Linked DNA regions of Homo sapiens: region 1 is linked to region 2. Evidence: promoter capture Hi-C in human tissues and cell types (Jung and others, 2019). All regions are on one chromosome and are shown on one strand. Each heading gives the region's core, a stretch centred on a gene start or on the middle of the fragment in contact. The rest is flanking DNA. Distances are from core to core; before and after follow the strand shown. Region 1 overlaps YARS1 (tyrosyl-tRNA synthetase 1). Region 2 holds the start of ZBTB8A (zinc finger and BTB domain containing 8A).

Region 1 (4,083 bases), core at 1,163-3,662, 270 kb before region 2:
TGAGAATGCAGGGTCTGTCTGTCTTTGTTCTGATGGCTGTCTTGCATAATTGCCTGTCAGGAGGTATGGTTGGTGTTATCTTGACTTCAGACTGATGGTGATGGACTAATCGTTCCAGACTCCCTCTGAGCAGGAGGATTCTGCAGTCTGGGCTCCATGCCTAGTTTGTTTCAAGATTAGCTTCTGTGATTTCTTTTTTTCCAACTTTTATTTTAGATTCAAGGGGTGCATGTGCAGGTTTGTTACATGTCACAGGAGTTTGGTGTACAGACAATTTTGTCACCCAGGTAATCAGCACAATACCCAATAGGTAGTTTTTGAATCCTCACCCTCCTCTCTGAAATTTCTTAAGCAAGAACATAATTAAATAAGCATGCATTGCCAGAAGGGAGGGAAAGAAGAAGAAAGTTGGTGATTAAAATATATTTTTAAAACCGAGATCCCTGGTTACACTAAGGTTAGGGAAGTAAATTAATGTGCTTTAGATTTCCTAGGAAACTGAGGCCTAGGCCCAGGTTTACAGCTGTCCCCTCTTCCTTTCCTCTTCAGAGAGTACACACTAGATGTGTACAGACTCTCCTCCGTGGTCACACAGCACGATTCCAAGAAGGCTGGAGCTGAGGTGGTAAAGCAGGTGGAGCACCCTTTGCTGAGTGGCCTCTTATACCCCGGACTGCAGGTACTTAAGGGGGATGGAGTGGCCCGATGACCTTTTCTGCTCTGGTTTGATGACAGGCATATCTTATTGCACTTTGCTTTACTGCACTACGCAGATATTGTGTTTTTTACAAATTGAAGGTGTGTGGCAACCCTGTGTACAGCAAGTCCACCAGCACCATTTTTCCAACAGCATGTGCTCACTTCGTGTCTCTGTGCTACATTTTGGTAATTCTCACAGTATTTCAAGCTTTTTCATTATTATCATATCTGCATGGTGATATGCGATCTGTTACCTTTGATGTTAAATATTGTAATTGTTTTGGGGCACCACAAACTGTGCCCGTATAAGACAACGAACTTAATAAGTATTGTGTGTGTTCTGACTACTCTACCATCCAGCCATTTCCTCACTCTCCTGGCCTCCTCATTTCCTAAAACACAACAATATTGAAATTAGGCTAATTAATAACCCTACAATGGCCTCTAAGTGTTGAAAGGGAGAGTCACACATAGCTCACTTTATTTATTTATTTATTTTTGAGACGGAATCTCGCTGTGTCGCCCAGGCTGGAGTGCAGTGGCGAAATCTCGGCTCACTGCAACCTCCGCCTCCCGGGTTCAAGCAATTCTCTGCCTCAGCCTCCCGAGTAGCTGGGATTACAGGCGCCTGCCACCATGCCCGGCTGATTTTTTTTGTATTTTTAGTAGAGATGGGGTTTCACCATCTTGGCCAGGCTGGTCTTGAACTCTTGACCTCATGATCCACCCACCTTGGCCTCCCACAGTGCTGGGATTATAGACGTGAGCTACCGTGCCCGGCCGCACATCTGTCACTTTAAATCTACACCTAGAAATGATTAAGCTTAGTGAAGAAGGAATGTCAAAAGCGGAGGCAGGCGGAAAGCTCGGCCTCTTGCACCAAATAGCCAGGTTGTGAATCCATAGGGAAAGTTCTTGAAGGAAATTCAAAGTGCTACTCCAGTGAACACCTGAAAAATAGAAACAGACATAAGTTTCACTTATGCTGATATAGAGAAGATTGTAGTGCTCTGGATAGAAGATGAAACCAGCCACAATGTTACCTTAATCTAAAGCCTACTCTAGAGAAAGGCCCTGTCTTCAGTTTTATGAAGGCTGAGAGATTGGTTCATGACATTTAAAGGGAAAAAAGCCATCTCCATAACATAAAAGTGCAAGGTGGCTCTCCCTCTCTCCCTCTCTCCCTCTCTCCCTCTCCCCCTCTCCCCCTCTCCCCCTCTCCCCCTCTCCCCCTCTCCCCTTTCCACCGTCTCCCTCTGATGCCGAGCCGAGGCTGGACTGTACTGCCGCCATCTTGGCTCACTGCAACCTCCCTGCCTGATTCTCCTGCCTCAGCCTGCCGAGTGCCTGGGATTGCAGGCGCGTGCCGCCACGCCTGCAATTTGTATTTTTTGGTGGAGACGGGGTTTCGCTGTGTTGGCCGGGCTGGTCTCCAGCTCCTGACCGCGAGTGATCTACCCGCCTCGGCGTCCCGAGGTGCCGGGATTGCAGACGGAGTCTCGCTCACTCAGTGCTCAATGTTGCCCAGGCTGGAGTGCAGTGGCGTGATCTCAGCTCGCTACAACCTCCACCTCCCAGCCGCCTGCCTTGGCCTCCCAAAGTGCCGAGATTGCAGCCTCTGCCTGGCTGCCACCCCATCTGGGAAGTGAGGAGCGTCTCTGCCTGGCCGCCCATCGTCTGGGATGTGAGGAGCCCCTCTGCCCGGCCGCCCAGTCTTGGAAGTGAGGAGCGCATCTTCCCGGCCGCCATCACGTCTGGGAAGTGAGGAGCGTCTCTGCCCGGCTGCCCATCGTCTCAGATGTGGGGAGCACCTCTGCCCCGCCGCCCCGTCTGGGATGTGAGGAGCGCCTCTGTCCGGCCGCGACCCGGTCTGGGAACTGAGGAGTGTCTCTGCCCGACCGCCACCCCGTCTGGGAGGTGAGGAGCGTCTTTGCCCAGCCGCCCCGTCTGAGAAGTGAGGAGCCCCTCCGCCTGGCAGCCGCCCCGTCTGGGAAGTGAGGAGCGTCTCCGCCCGGCAGCCGCCCCGTCCGGGAGGTGGGGGGCAGCCGCCGCCCGGCCAGCCGCCCTGTCCAGGAGGGAGGTGGGGGGCAACCCCCGCCCGGCCAGCCACCCCGTCCGGGAGGGAGGTTGGGGGTGCCTCTGACCGGCCGCCCCGTCTGGGAAGTGAGGAGCCCCTCTGCCCGGCGGCCACCCCGTCTGGGAGGAGTACCCAACAGCTCGTTGAGAACGGGCCATGATGACGATGGCGGTTTTGTCGAATAGAAAAGGGGGAAATGTGGGGAAAAGAAAGAGAGATCAGATTGTTACTGTGTCTGTGTGGAAAGAGGTAGACATGGGAGACTCCATTTTGTTCTGTACTAAGAAAAATTCTTCTGCCTTGGGATGCTGTTAATCTATAACCTTACCCCCAACCCCGTGCTCTCTGAAACATGTGCTGTGTCCACTCAGGGTTAAATGGATAAAGGGCGGTGCAAGATGTGCTTTGTTAAACAGATGCTTGAAGGCAGCATGCTCGTTAAGAGTCATCACCACTCCCTAATCTCAAGTACCCAGGGACACAAACACTGCGGAAGGCCGCAGGGTCCTCTGCCTAGGAAAACCAGAGACCCTTGTTCACATGTTTATCTGCTGACCTTCCCTCCACTATTGTCCTATGACCCTGCCAAATCCCCCTCTCCGAGAAACACCCAAGAATGATCAATAAATACTATTAAAAAAAAAAAGTGCAAGGTGAAGCAGCAAGCCCTGATGTAGAAGTTGCAGCAAGTTACCCAGAAGATCTAGCTAAGATCATTGATGAAGGTGGCTACACTCAACAATGGATTTTCAAGGTAGATGAAATAGCCTTTTTTCGGAAGAAGATGCCATCTCGGACTTTCGTAGCTAGAGAGAAGTTGATTCCTGGCTTCAAATCTTCAAAGGACAGGCTGACTCTCTTGTTAGGAGCTAATGCAGCTGGTGACTTGAAGTTGAAGCCAATGCTCATTTACATTCCAAAAATCCTAGTGCCTTTAAGAATTATGCTAAATAGGCCGGGCATGGTGGCTCATGCCTGTAATCCCAGCACTTTGGGATGCCGAGGTGAGCAAATCACTTGAGGCCAGGAGTTCGAGACCAGCCTGACCAACATGGTGAAACCCGGTCTCTACTAAAACTACAAAAAAAAAAAAAAAAAGAAGAATTAGGCCAGGCATGATGGCTCACACCTGTAACTCAGCACTTTGGGAGGCCGAGGCAGGCAGATCACGAGGTCAGGAGTTCGAGACCAGCCTGGCCATCATAGTAAAACCCCGTCTCTACTAAAAATATTAATTAGCCGGGCATGGTGGTGCGCAACTGTAGTCCCAGCTACTCAGGAGGCTGAGGCAGGACAGTCGCTTGAAC
Region 2 (3,830 bases), core at 956-3,455:
TGCCTAAACTTCTCAGCCTCCAGAAGTGTGAGAAATAAATTTGTTCTTTATAATTACCCAGTCCCAAAGTATTTTTATAGCTGCACAAATGGCCTGAGACAGAAAAGATTTAGAATTAATAAAAACACTTAAGAGAATCAAAACTATAGTTGAGGAAAGCCTCATTGAGAAGATGGCATTTGGGTAAAGTCCAAAGGAAGTAAGAGAGTCATGTGGGTGTCTGGGGGAAGAGCATTTCAGGCAAAGGGAACGGCAAGTGCAAAGGCCCTGAGGTGAGCAGGCAAGGAGGCATGGGGGAAGCAATGGGATATGGAGTCAGAAAGGGAAAGCAGATCATGAGAGAAGTAGGACATGGTGAGACCAGGTGCTTGTAAGGCTGCATAGACTATTATGGAGCTTTTGGCTTTTAAACTGCGTAAGATGGGGAGCCACTGACCAATTTTGAGCAGAAAAGTGGCAAAAGCTTCATTCAAGGGAATCAAACACATCAAATCTTTAAATATGATTAACATATCATTGTGTCACTGAGTTAAGTCTATTACACAGTTTTATCTAAAAATTAGATTTAAATGACATACGATGAATTAAATTACTCTATCTTACAAAGTTTTTGATGGCCCCAAATCATTATCAACAGCGAAGCTGGTGATTTCAGGGCTAGGAGATAAGGGTTAGTGGTGTGGCCTCCTTCCTGGAGTCCCTACTCATTATGCCTCCTGCTGACATTTTAGAGCACAATCCACCCAGACACCCATTTGATCAAGGGCCCTAAGCCAGATTCTCACTTCCCAGTTGCCACTTGTGTGGCCAGAGAGGTTCCCAGGAATAAAGACATCTGATCCCTGCTTATCAGTGAGGGGCTCTTGCTCCAGTCTACAAACGCATCCATACCTGAGGCATGGAGGAGATAAGACTGGAGCAGAAGCTTGTTGAGGATTTTGGAGGCTTTCCTGAAAAAGATCAGTTAAGGTTTTTAGAGCAGGGAAGCGCTGTGTTAAGACTGGCCCTTCTAAAGACTCCTCTGGAGGTGCCTTAGGAGGGAAGGCAGGGCGGGAACAGGAGGCCCTGGGCGGCTATGGTCACCCTAGCCTAGAGGTGAAACGCCATGCTTCATACGTGTTCCCTCATCTGCAAAGTGGAATTACCGTCAGCCTGACTAGGTGGTTGTTTTATGTGAAATTAAGTGAAATAATTCATATAGGTGAAAGCACTCCATTTAAAGTTGTGCAACTATAAAGGTTTATCAAGCATAGAGGTGATATTGACGTGTGTGGTTAGAAGCCCACCAGGTGTGTGTGAATCTACCGCTTCCAAACGCGTCTTAGAATGATGTGGAGTAGGGCCATTGGAACAATCGGGGATACATAAGCGCATCTGAAGGGGAAGGGAACAAGCCGCTGACTAACTCACAAAAGAGGCGGTCCGCATGGGTAGAGATGAGCATGTAAGGTTCCGTCCAGAAGCAAATAGTTGGGAGCTCAACATTGGTTAGGCGCGGTGAGTTCGCCCTCGGTTCTAAGCCCAGATGTCGCATCTTGACATAAAACCAAGGATGGAGGCTGCACCGAGAAACTCGGGCTACTGCCCTGGGAGCCAGGTTCCCCGGCAGCGCCCCTGGCCGCGCCCGCAGAGACTCCGGCCCCGGCCCTGCCCTGCCCTCCCCGCGCGCCCCCGCGGCGGCCGCCCGTCTTTGCTCCGCGCAGCCCGAGCCCCTCCAGAGTCCGCGGCGCCCGACGGCTCCAGACACGCCCGGCGCCGTCCCCGCCGCCTTCCCGCCGCCGCCTCCAGGAGGCTCCGCGCGCCTTCCCGCCTTTCCCCGGGCCGGGCCGGGCGGCGAGGCGGGCGCGGGCGGCGACGGCGCGGCCATTGTCCCGCAGCCCCTCCCGGGCGCCTCCCGCCGCGCTCCCGGCCCGGGGACGTCTGGGGGAGGCGCGCCCGGGGCCCGCATCCCAGCACTGCCGCCGCCCGGGCCGTCAGAGCCCGCGGCCAGGCTCGCGGCGGGTCCCGGGCAGCCCCGACGCCCGCCCGCCCTCCGCCGGCGCCGCGTGCAGCCACTTACCGCGGGCCGCGGCGCACCGGCCGGTCGCGCGCGCGGGCCGAGGGAAGATTCCTGGTTCTCGGCTGGGGAAGGACCCCCTTTCGAGGCCGTTCCTTTGCGCCCTAAAACAAGTAGCCCCAACGTGAGAGAAACAAAAGGTATTTGCTGACGTGGGCGTTGGACAGAAACGCCCGAGGGCTGGGGACACAATTAAAGGGGCAACGCACAGATTTCAGGCACCAACCAGCAGCTTCGCCCACTCCCCCTGCCCTTGCCCACACTCGCTGCACGCTCCAGAGACACCGGGGTGCCCAGATTCTCTAGCAGTTGACTGCGGATCATGATTTTAGTCAGGAGCTGAAATTTAAAATTGTACTTTACGTTGGGAAAGGCGCCTCCGGAGGGCAGAAGGGCTGGATTTCTAGGATCTGGGGATTTGGTTTAGGAAAGAGGGAGGGACTTAGGCGTGCCCACAATTACTGTATAAGTACATGTGACATTATTGTACTTAAGTTTAGCAACGTCAAATGCAAAAGATTTCCACAGAATTTTCCCTTGTACTGAAGCAGTTATTTTAGTTGAGGATAACCTTTTCTAAACCTGTACAGGTCAGAAGCATTTCATTTGAATAGGAAAACCCAGAGAGGCTGAGATAAGAGAACATAATTCTTAGTTAAGTCCAGAGAAATATAAAATTAGTAAAAATAGCAAGTTGCGTCTTTTCCAATGCAAGCATTCATCGTACACCAAGCTTCCTCTGACAAATTTACGTCTCTAATATTTAGAGTACAGATATCAGGTTATACATTTGCTAAAATAGTAAATCAATGGATTTTCACTGTTACTGTAGAAGCATTACTTCTATAAATTAGTTTTCTAGTTCCTTATGCTGGGGTCAGGTACTGAAAAGTACTGTGTTATAGTAAAACTGGAGGGAAAAGGTTCAAATTATCAAAACTTGCGTTTAGCTTTTAATGGATTCCTCTCCTGTTCAAAATCATTCATATTGGACAGTTTGTAACTTTGATTTCAGGAATAATTAGCTATGCATTTTGAGGATACAAGATATTCACAATTGTCTCAATGTCACTTCTGTGTCACTGCAGAGGTGCTTTGCTATTTAGTTGCATTTCCTCACCTTCTGAACAGGTAAGTAGAAACATATTTGAAAACCATTAGGTGTCTGGTGTGTTGGATGTACTCAGATTACTCTGCTAGCGCCCCCATTGAGAATTCCCCCAGAAAGACCTGGACATGGTTTTAGCCAAAGGTTTTATTTTAGCCTTAGTTAATTAAAACATGCAAAAGAGTTCCACAAACATATTCCTCAAGAGAGCACATCAGGTTGGTGATAAACTCTTTGTTGAGGCCGGGTGTGGTGGCTCACACCTATAATCTCAGCACTTTGGGAGGCCGAGGTGGGCGGATCACGAGGTCAGGAGGTTGAGACCAGCCTGGCCAACATGGTGAAACCCCATCTCTACTTAAAATACAAAAATTAGCTGGGCATGGTGGTGCGCGCCTGTAATCCCAGCTACTGGGGCAGCTGAACCAGGAGAATGGCTTGAACACAGGAGGTGGAGTTTGCAGTGAGCCAAGATCGTGCCACTGCACTCCAGCCTGGGTGACGGAGCAAGACTCCATTTCAAAAACAAAAACAAAAACAACAAACAAAAATAACCTCTTTGTTGCAAGGAAGAGGTAATGAGAGTTTTGTCCCTCACCTTCATTCTCCTAGCTTTGGGAGCACGTTTCTGTATGCTAGAGCTCCACCATTAACCAGTGCTAGTCT

What was found. The method cuts DNA at HindIII sites, captures the fragments that hold promoters and counts their contacts. A contact is called where the count stands out against the background at its distance.
Region 1: a fragment that was not itself captured here is called in contact with the fragment with the promoter of ZBTB8A in region 2 in 1 of the 25 tissues and cell types used here (dorsolateral prefrontal cortex).

Annotation. Positions count from the first base shown.
Region 1 is chr1:32,803,078-32,807,160 of GRCh38, reverse strand. YARS1 (tyrosyl-tRNA synthetase 1) reads left to right here. Exons shown (of 13, transcript NM_003680.4): 4 at 550-679. Among named protein-coding and RNA genes, the nearest start is that of YARS1, 12 kb to the left of the region's middle. RefSeq lists enhancers at 1,795-2,468, 2,469-3,143. The HindIII fragment of the contact is 4,745 bases long and covers 40-4,083 here.
Region 2 is chr1:32,537,802-32,541,631 of GRCh38, reverse strand. ZBTB8A (zinc finger and BTB domain containing 8A) reads right to left here and starts at 2,205. Exons shown (of 5, transcript NM_001040441.3): 1 at 2,060-2,205. LOC124903952 (a long non-coding RNA gene) reads left to right here. Exons shown (of 2, transcript XR_007065669.1): 2 at 1-56. RefSeq lists a silencer at 1,473-1,842. The HindIII fragment of the contact is 4,148 bases long and covers 695-3,830 here.